2 separate regions of the Homo sapiens genome follow, and region 2 is linked to region 1. Evidence: promoter capture Hi-C in 16 types of primary human blood cells and fetal thymus (Javierre and others, 2016). All regions are on one chromosome and are shown on one strand. Each heading gives the region's core, a stretch centred on a gene start or on the middle of the fragment in contact. The rest is flanking DNA. Distances are from core to core; before and after follow the strand shown.

Region 1 (4,769 bases), core at 1-2,500:
TGATAAATTCACCTCTCTGTTGGCCCCTACCCATCAAAACAGAGGAATAGATTGGAAAGAGAAATGAAGTATGTGATCATTATGGGACAATGGAGGAGAGGAAGGGCTGAGAAACAGGGGCATGAAGTGAAGGGGTGAAAGGAAGAGGCAGAAGCCCAAGATCCCCCAGTAGCATCCTTCAGGGAAACAAGAATGGGCAAGGGGTCTCTGGGAACCAAGAGTCATGACTCAGCCCCAGGGTGCCAGGGTGATACAGACCTGACATGGGGGAAGACGTAGGTGCAGGGAGATGGACAGGGGAGGATACAGGGCATCGTAGTCGCCATTCCCTCTCAGGGAGTTACTCACCAGCAGGGCAGGAGGACGGTCTGCCTTGGCTTTTGACACTAGCACACGAGAGCTTCTTGCTTATAGGAGAGGGACTGTACTCTGAGTAGGAAAGAAGAAAGGGTACATCCCATGAGCTATCCTCCCCATAATCCCCTTATCCCCTTCCAAATTGTCTTCTACCTTGGAGGTGACACTGTGTCCAGAATCAGCCTACTCATCAGCTTTTAAGGTTAGTTTCCTCATTTTTAAAGCAGAAGTAATAGTTGTCCTTACCTCATAAAATGGTTGTGGGAATTAAATGAAATAATCTACGTAAAACTTGGATTATACCTGGTTCATAATGAGTGTTCATAAATTACAGCTACCATTCTCCTCCACCTCTTCCTCCTCATCAGGAAAACCTCAGCTTTTAGCCAAGACTTCAAACACGGGTAGGGTAGTGTAGAAAGCCCTCATCAGGGGTTGGGCTTGGTTGGGATCTTGGGATGGGATAGAGACAAAGCTAGAGTTTAAGAACAGGAGAAATGAGCAAGGGTCAACCCCCCGCTTCCCCTACCCCAGTCAGTTACCTAGACTGTTGAGAACATCCTTGATCTTCTTATCCATAACGGAGTCTAAGGAACACTGAGTACTCCCCGGGTTGATCAGCTGGAGAAGGGGGATTAGGATGAGAAGGAGGCAAGAGGACGGCCCCATCCTGTACAGAGTCAGTGTCCTGGGGCTGGGAGAAAAGATGGAAAGCAGCTTAGATCTCTGAGCTCCTGGGTGGTGGTGAAGGAAAGAAGACAACGTGGTTAGTTTCCAGGGAGTAAAGATGGAAGAACAGCGTCATCAGTACTGGATCTCTTTAGGCAGTTTGGAGAAGCAGGTAGGGTTGCTGAAGAACAGATTTATTCACCAAAACATTCAGAGAAGGTCTACAAGGACTAGCCAGGCAAGGGCGTTTTAATACACCTGGTATTAACCTGGGCACCTTTAACATACAAGCACACACAAACATGTAAACACACTCCCAGCACACTTTCAAAGACCTGTGCCAGCTAGGGTAACAGGTGACTGTGATAAACTTTGGAGTGTTCATGAGAAGCAACAGCTGCCTTTGCTCTGGATCTCTGCCAAGGGAGTCCTCCTGCCTTTTTGTTCTCCTTCTCCTTTCTTCTTGGCAACCCGATAAGGCTAGCACCTGGGCCTTCTGTGGTCTGCCGGTATTATAGGCTTCTTGTTTGATCCTTCATCAGGAAGAGGTTACTTTGCAGTTAACAAACAAATTAATCCACCCATCATCTATCCCAAACCCAAGTGTATGCTCTTTCTTATCTCTGTTGGCTGAGGGAGGGCCCTACTTGTCACCTGTTCAGACACCATTTTATTGTCCCTGGCCAATCTCATTTGGAGGAAAGTCACAGAAAGACTAATTAATCCTGGATTAAAAATAAGGAAGTTCAGTATTTACTTAACTAGAAGCATGGTTTATGATTCCAGAGTTCTTTTGGGGGCTCATAAAGTTTCCCTTTTTCCCCCACCATTCTCAGCTAATCTTTCGATCTTGTCTCCTCATGGTCACAAGGTAGAAGGTGCCACATCCTCAGCCCAGACCCTGAGCAGGAAGGAAGGAGTGGGGCAAGGCCACTTTCTGTAGGGGCTTTACCTTTTTATTTTAAGAGCAAGATCTTTCTCTAGAAGCTCAAGAAGATTTCCCCTTACATTCCACTGTTTGGTTCTGGGTCACACAACCTCCCTTTCTATCAGCTATGGCTGAAAAAGAGAGCTGGGCTTCACAATTCCTTATCCAAGACCTGGGGCCCAGGTATGTTTCAGAACTCAGAATGTTTCAGATTATGGAAGGTGCAAATTCTGTATATTATGTTAAACCACCAAGGAGGTTGGGGGCAGCACTCTGCAGTCTAATGCATAAATAGCCTGATGCAAAATGTATGAATATTAATGTGGGATAAATAAAAGACCATAAAGAGCCTCACACCAGGCCATGCCAAGTTTTTCTGCCAAATGAGTTAGCCTCAAATTTAGGACAGAACATTTTCATCTTTAGAGCCTTTTAGATTTTAGAATAATGGATAAGGGATTGAGGACTTTGAGGATTCACATATGGCCAAGAGGAATGAGGATGCCATGATTCCTCATCTAGGATGGGGCATGTGGCCACCATGAATAAATAAAATTTAAAGAAGTGCAGATGAAGAAGCAGAGAAAGGGGCCATGTGTTGTGGCTCATGCCCATAATTCCAATACTTTGATAGGCTGAGGCAGGAGGGTCTCTTGAGCACAAGAGTTCAAGACCAGCCTGGGCAACATAGTGAGACTCTATCAAAAAAAAAAAATTTACTGGGAGTGGTACCATGCATTTGTGGTCCCGGCTACTTAGGAGACTGAGGCAGGAGGATCACTTGAGCCTCAAGGTTGCAGTGAGCTGAGATTGTTTCACTGCACTCCAGCCTGGATGACAAAGCAAGACCTTGCCTCAAAAATAAATAAAATAAAATAAAATAAAATGAGAAGCAGAAAAAGGCAGTTAGGTGACTATTCCTTGAGGCAGTCAGAGCTGGAAAGGCTGGGCTCTACCTCTGTGACCAGCCTTTCTGCCCACTTTCCTGGAGATGCCCTCTAATGAACAGCTATTACTTATACATATCTCTCTCAGGCAACTTTGAGAAATGAGGCCTGGAGATGCCAGCAAAAAGGCAAGGATGCTTCCTCAATTACCAGACAGGAGTTGAAGAGAAGAAAAATGAGACTGGAGAATAAGAAAGAGCATACACTTGGATTTGGGATACATGATGGGTTGATTAATTGTTTGCTAATTCAATGAAAATTTGTAGAGCTTCTCTTTACCAGCTCTAGCTCTGCTGACTCAGTGGTGGACAACGTAGACAAGCTCTTTGCCCTTTTGTAATGGGGGAGATAAATACAGTGTATATACATATACTGTATTTATATATATGTATGTATGTGTATATATATATATGTATGTATATATATACATATATATATGTATGTATGTGTATACATACATATGTATGTATGTGTATACATACATATGTATGTATGTGTATACATACATATGTATGTATGTGTATACATACATATGTATGTATGTGTATACATACATATGTATGTATGTGTATACATACATATGTATGTATGTGTATACATACATATGTATGTATGTGTATACATACATATGTATGTATGTGTATACATACATATGTATGTATATATGGTCAAGTATTGAGAAATGCTGTAAAGAAAAATAAGTCAAGACAAGGCAATAGAGTGTGCCACTGTGCTATTGCCCATAATGCAGTATGTTCAGGAAAGGTGTCTCAGAAAAGGTAACAATGACCTGAAGAAGTGAGGGGGTGAGTCACAGGAAAATCTGGGACAAATGTTCTAGCCTGTGGAACAAGTATAAAGAGCCCACGGCAGAGAGTTGGTTAGTGTGTTGAAAGAATGACAACAATGGCAATATGGCCAGAATGAAGTATAGGGGGAAGGCCAGAGAAGAAGTCAGAGAGCTGACCAGGGCCAGATTATATAGAGCTTGTAAGCCAATGTAAGGGCTTTGGATTTTATTATAAATTTGACAGCAAATTATTGTAGTGTTTTGTTCAGGGGAGTGACATAAAATGATTTATGGTTTTCTAATGTTTAATTTTTCTTTTTTTTTTGGAGATAGGGTCTAGTTCTGTTGCCCAAGCTGGAGTGCAGTGGTGTGATCATGGCACTGCAGCCTCAAACTCCTGGGCTCAAGTGATCCTTGTGCCTAAGCCTTCCAAGTAGCTGGGACTATAATAGTGTGCCATCACACCCGGCTATTTAAAAAAAAATTTTTTTTTGTAGAGACAAGGCCTTATTATGTTGCCTAAGCTAGTCTTGAATGCCTGAGCTCAAGTGATCCCCCCATCTCGCTTCCCAAAGGTGAAATTACAGGTGTGACCCACTGTGCCTGGCCCTGATTAATGTTTTATAAAGCTTACTATGGCCACTGTGGAAGAGACACCGCGGAGGGAAAACAGGTAAGATGTAAGCAGGGAAAGCAGGCAGCAGGCTTCTACAGAGTTCTAGGTCTTGGAGAATAATCAAGGAAGGAGTGAGAACCGAGCCTCCATAGGGTTTGCTGATGTATGCAAGGTGTAGAAGAAATAGAGAAGTACAGATCTAGAGTTTTGTTTTGAATAACTTATTGAAGAGTGCTGCTACTTACTGAAATGGGGTTCCCTGGGAGAACAGTAGATATGGTGGGAACATAAAATCATATTTGATCATAGTCAATTTAATGTACCTATTAGAAATGTAGGGGGAGCTGTGGCATACAGAGTTAGGTATACAAATCTGGGGTTCAGGGAAACAGTAAGAGTTGGAGATATAAATTTGTGAGTAATCAGTACACAGGTGAATCTATGTGCAGAGATACTCTCATA
Region 2 (4,833 bases), core at 527-3,026, 200 kb after region 1:
CTGCTGTCTAGAGCAACAGACTTTCATCCTGATATTGGGCTGCTTATAGCAGCCATACAAAGAGTGAAGCACAGAGAATGACAGAGAGAAAGAAAGAGAAAACTGAGATTGAGAGCTGAGAGAGACATACACAGGGAGAGGCAAATAAAGACAACGTGGCATCATGCTTATAGTATCTGGAACACACTTCCAGGATTAATAACAAAAGCGGAATCTGTCACATTTTCCCACTGATTTGTCAGCTCCTTGAAGATCGCCTTTTGCTTGCATTGACACTAAGTAAAATTGATGAGGAGGAAAGCACTGTCATGCTGAACAGGCAGTGCTTAACTCATATTTGGTAACAAAGCACAAAAGACCATACCATAATGTCCTAAAGAAATCTGTTCCTGACATTGCTACAAGGATTAAAACAGCTGTTAATTTTGCACAGGTTTAATCTTCCCAAGTTCCTGCCTGTTACCTCCTTTTAAGTCACCTGCTTCTTGGTTTAAAGTATTTTGCTAAATTCTACACATCCTATCAAACAACCAGTTTTTTTTTTAATTTTACTCAATTTACCTCCCCTTCTTTCTCTTCTATTATCAGTTGGATGGCCTTCTAAAGTCATTATTTTCTATTAGCATTTTCTCTGTTCCTTTTTATTCTAGTCAATATCTACACATTTTGAAATATACAAATCTACAGTAAAATAACCAAAATAAACAAGTAAAAGCAGGCAGAACCTGAGCCTGATATTTCAGGTTGTTGCTTTTTTGTCTCTCTTTTTTTTTTCAATTCCATATATTCTTTTCTCTTCTTTGTATTTTTTCAAGAAATGAAATTAAATGCACTACAGCTCCTCAGGAATGAGTAAATTCAAGATAAAAGTTGAGTAACAATCTTTAGAAACAAAAATTTGTCTGAATTTAAAACTGTTAAGCTTCCATTTTTCCCAAACTAAATTGGTAAACTATGGGGAAAAAAGTAATATGAAGCAGTTTAACTTTTGATTTGAGTACAGACAACATGTTGGCTAATTTGTATTGATTATATCTGCCAATCTAGATGCAATCACACTTTTAAAAGCAGAGTCCTGTAATTTGCTTTTCTATAAAATGTCACCAATGCATTAAATACTTCGAAAACAGTCTTTGTAAATCAATCTGTACTTATTAGATTTATTTAAATGATAGCATTAGAATTCCATGCCGAGATTTAATCTGGTTTTAAAATAACTCCCTACATGCAGAACACTTCCTAGGGTGGGAGAGGCTAGTTCCCAATTATTTTCATGCCGTCAGTACTAAAAGTATTTAATGACTCACTTACCTACAAGCTGTGAGTTGCCTGAAGACCTCTCCATTCAGTGGGATGTACACATTTTACTTAAGGCTATTTTACAGGAAAAAAAAAAAAAAGGGAAGAGTGCAGAACCACAGCATTTTCAAATGAAATGAAAAATGAAAGATCTTACCTTGTTCGTGTCAAAGGTATTATAAACTTGATCAATATGTTTATTGGCCTTCTGATTCAGACCTTGCAGACCCAAAAGTGTCTTAAATTCATGTAGTGTTTGCAGGCCGGATGGATATTCCATCATAAATGTTCTGTACCACACATGGGTCTCTTGTGTAGGAACTGCTTTCTGATCACCAGCTATAGATTTGCCATTCCCCATCTTGACTCACAGTCTACAGCTTTTCCTCAGGTTGTTTTCACTTAAGTTTTTGCTGGATTTAGTCCCTTACTCCTCACTAAAACTGAAGGCTAACATATGCCCTCAGAAAGCTACTCTAAACCTCTTACAGCAACAAGCTAAATAAGAATAGAAAGCCAGTGAGATTAACTTATCTGCCCAGTTTTAAAACCAAGGTCACTTGGCACTTGGTAACTAACATGCTTACAGTCATGCAGAGACATAGTTTTTTGTGAAGGGAACACGCAATATTTTAGAGAGGGTGATCCTTGTTATATTGTTAGCCATAAATTTTGCCTACATTATTGAGTGGTACAGTGGGTCTAATGGCAGGAACTTTGAGTTGCAATCAGGAAGCCTAGATTCTATGCTTTGTTCTACCACTTATTAACTATATTGAAACATTACTTACATTCTCGTGTTTCCTCATCTGTAAAACAGTAATAAAAGTTTCTGCCTTTTCATACCTGAGTATTGTGAAGATATATTTAGATAACATTTTACATGAAAAAATCATACATTGAGTATTATTAAAAAGAAGTCTATGTATAAGAGAGAAAAATAGGTAAAGAGAATTAAATAGTAGTAAGAAGAACTTCAGATGTAGTAGTCAGATAAAGGAACATATTGGGCTGTGTCTTCTGGCAGTGTTCTTCCTTTCTCTCCCCCACCCTCTGTTCTTACCTTTTTCTGGTCTCTCAAGTATCTACACATGCCACTGGCCTGCCAGCTTTATCTCACTCCAGTTTTCTAATCTGGCTAATCTTGTCCTAACCAAGCCCCATTTGCCAATGAACTTAAGAACAGGGTCAATGGACCTAAGAACTGTATCCAAGGTCCAGTAGTGGAAATGAATGCTTTGTGTGGTCCTCAACCCATTTTGGTACCAACCATACTTAGAACCAGAAAACCCCAGGTAGAATATAATTCTGTTACCCCTAAATTATAGTTCTCCTTTTTTTTTTTTTTTTTTTGAGATGGAGTCTCGCTCTGTCCCTCAGGCTGGAGTGCAGTGGCATGATCTCAGCTCACTGCAAGCTCCACCTCCTGGGTTCACGCCATTCTCCTGCCTCAGCCTCCAGAGTAGCTGGGACTACAGGCGCCCGCCACCACGCCCAGCTAATTTTTTGTATTTTTAGTAGACATGGGGTTTCACCGTGTTAGCCAGGATGGTCTCGATCTCCTGACCTCATGATCCGCCTCAGCCTCCCAAAGTGCTGGGATTACAGGCACAAGTCACCACACCTGGCCTACAGTTCTCTTTTCTAACCTCACTCAATTCTTTCTTTTATTTTCATTTTGGCCCAGCTCATATATCTGGTCTCTGTCTTTGTCCCTATTCCTTAGTCCTGACTGATTACCTGTTTATTATGAAACCCTTGATTCCTAAGAAGTAGCCATCATGGCCTAAATGAACTGCCTTGACCAGAAGTGGTGGTGGTTACAGTGAATATGGTTAATTTTGTTTCAAACATATCAATGTAGACTCTCAATGGGACATTTCGATGTCATAATTAGAGTTAAATAAAAGGGCTGGGCACAGTGGCTCATGCCTGAAATCTCAGCACTTTGGGAGGCCAAGGTGGGTGGATCCCTTGAGGTCAGGAGTTCGAGACCAGCTTGGGCAACTGGTGAAATCCCATTTCTACTAAAAATACAAAAATTAGCCGGGCATAGTGGTGCACGCCTGTAATCCCAGCTACTCGGGAGGCTGAGGCAAGAGAATCAGTTGAATCCTGGAGGCAGAGGTTGCAAGTGAACTGAGATTGTGCCACTGCACTCCAGCCTGGGCGACAGTGAGACTCTGTCTAAAAAAAAAAAAAAAAAAAAAAAAAAAAAAAAAAAAAAAAAGGTGAAAATAAGGTCATAGAATGTAAAACTCACCCATTTGAACCCATTTGAAAGAATTACTTGAAACCATTAAAGTGAATGATACTCTTTTTTGGACAGTAAAAAGGACAAAGGGGAGACAGTGAGGACTCAGCCTCGGGATTATTCAGCTAGGAATTAGAGAAATATCCTGCTAGAATTTTCAAAAAGCATTCTTTGGGGAAGTCCCCTTTAAGACTGTTTCTAAATGTCTGCCAGAGGATGCTCAGAGGTGCTGACTTTTTATCACCATTAACATTTATTAATCACTAATTTTTAAATTAAAGAAAAAATGGATACAGATGATGGCAGAGGAAGGTAGTAAAAGTTTTCAAGGAGGCAGGAAAATCCTTTGAGGAAGGAAAACTTTGGATGGATCAAGAATATAAGGACCTGAGATCCAGAAACTGTTTCTTCATATAAATTCTACTTTAAAGAAAATTGGCCAAGCGCAGTGGCTCACACCTGTAATCCCAGCACTTTGGGAGGCCGAGGTGGGCGGATCACCTGAGGTCAGGAGTTTGAGAGCAGCCTGACCAACATGGTGAAACCCAGTCTCTACTAAAAATGCACAATTAGCCAGGCATGGTGGCACGGCACCTGTAATCCCAGCTACTCGGGAGGCTGAGACAGGAGAATCGCTTGAACCCGGGAGACGGAGGTTGCTGTGAGCGGAGATCGTGCCATTGTACTCCAGCCTGGGCAACAGGAGTGAAACTCCGTCTCAAAAAAAAAAAAAAAAAAAAGAGAAAAGAAACAAAAAGAAAACCTGCATAATGATCATTTGCTGATGCAGAAAAAAACTTTAAAATTATTTGTAAAATGAGAATTCTTATATTGAATACAATATTGTATTAAAAAATCAGGAGTCTTGCTGTATAGAACATTAGCCAGTCATAAGATCATGGGAAAAAGCCTTCATTCATGATAGGCTAAAAAATAAATCTAACTGCAATAAATATAACTAGGAATGTGCAAGATGTATTTGAAGAAAATTTTAAAATGGTACTGTAGGGTTCCAATGAAGACTTGAGGATATGCAAAGGCGTATCTTGGTCTTGGGTAGAAAGACTTACTATTAAAAACCATATCAGTTCTCTCTATATTAATCTGTATTATCACCACAAACCCCCATCTAAAAAAAAAATAGAATTTGAGGGATATTGGTGGCTACAAAATGTAATTCTGAGAATCAAGCACAAAAAATACACAAAAAATTTTGAAAAATAAAATTATTAAATAGCCCTACCAAAAACACCATGAATCTGGCATGAGAAAAGATGAAG

What was found. Contacts are between HindIII fragments. The CHiCAGO score rates a contact against its expected background, and 5 or more counts as called.
Region 2: the fragment with the promoter of GUCA1C here is called in contact with the fragment with the promoter of RETNLB in region 1 in 10 of 17 cell types (total CD4 T cells, total B cells, naive CD8 T cells and 7 more); the score reaches 10.2 in total CD4 T cells.

What each region holds. Positions count from the first base shown.
Region 1 is chr3:108,756,160-108,760,928 of GRCh38, forward strand. RETNLB (resistin like beta) reads right to left here and starts at 1,251. Exons shown (of 3, transcript NM_032579.3): 1 at 900-1,251; 2 at 349-429. The coding sequence starts at 1,026. The HindIII fragment of the contact is 7,429 bases long and covers 1-4,318 here.
Region 2 is chr3:108,952,103-108,956,935 of GRCh38, forward strand. GUCA1C (guanylate cyclase activator 1C) reads right to left here and starts at 1,777. Exons shown (of 4, transcript NM_005459.4): 1 at 1,457-1,777. The coding sequence starts at 1,660. The HindIII fragment of the contact is 5,644 bases long and covers 921-4,833 here.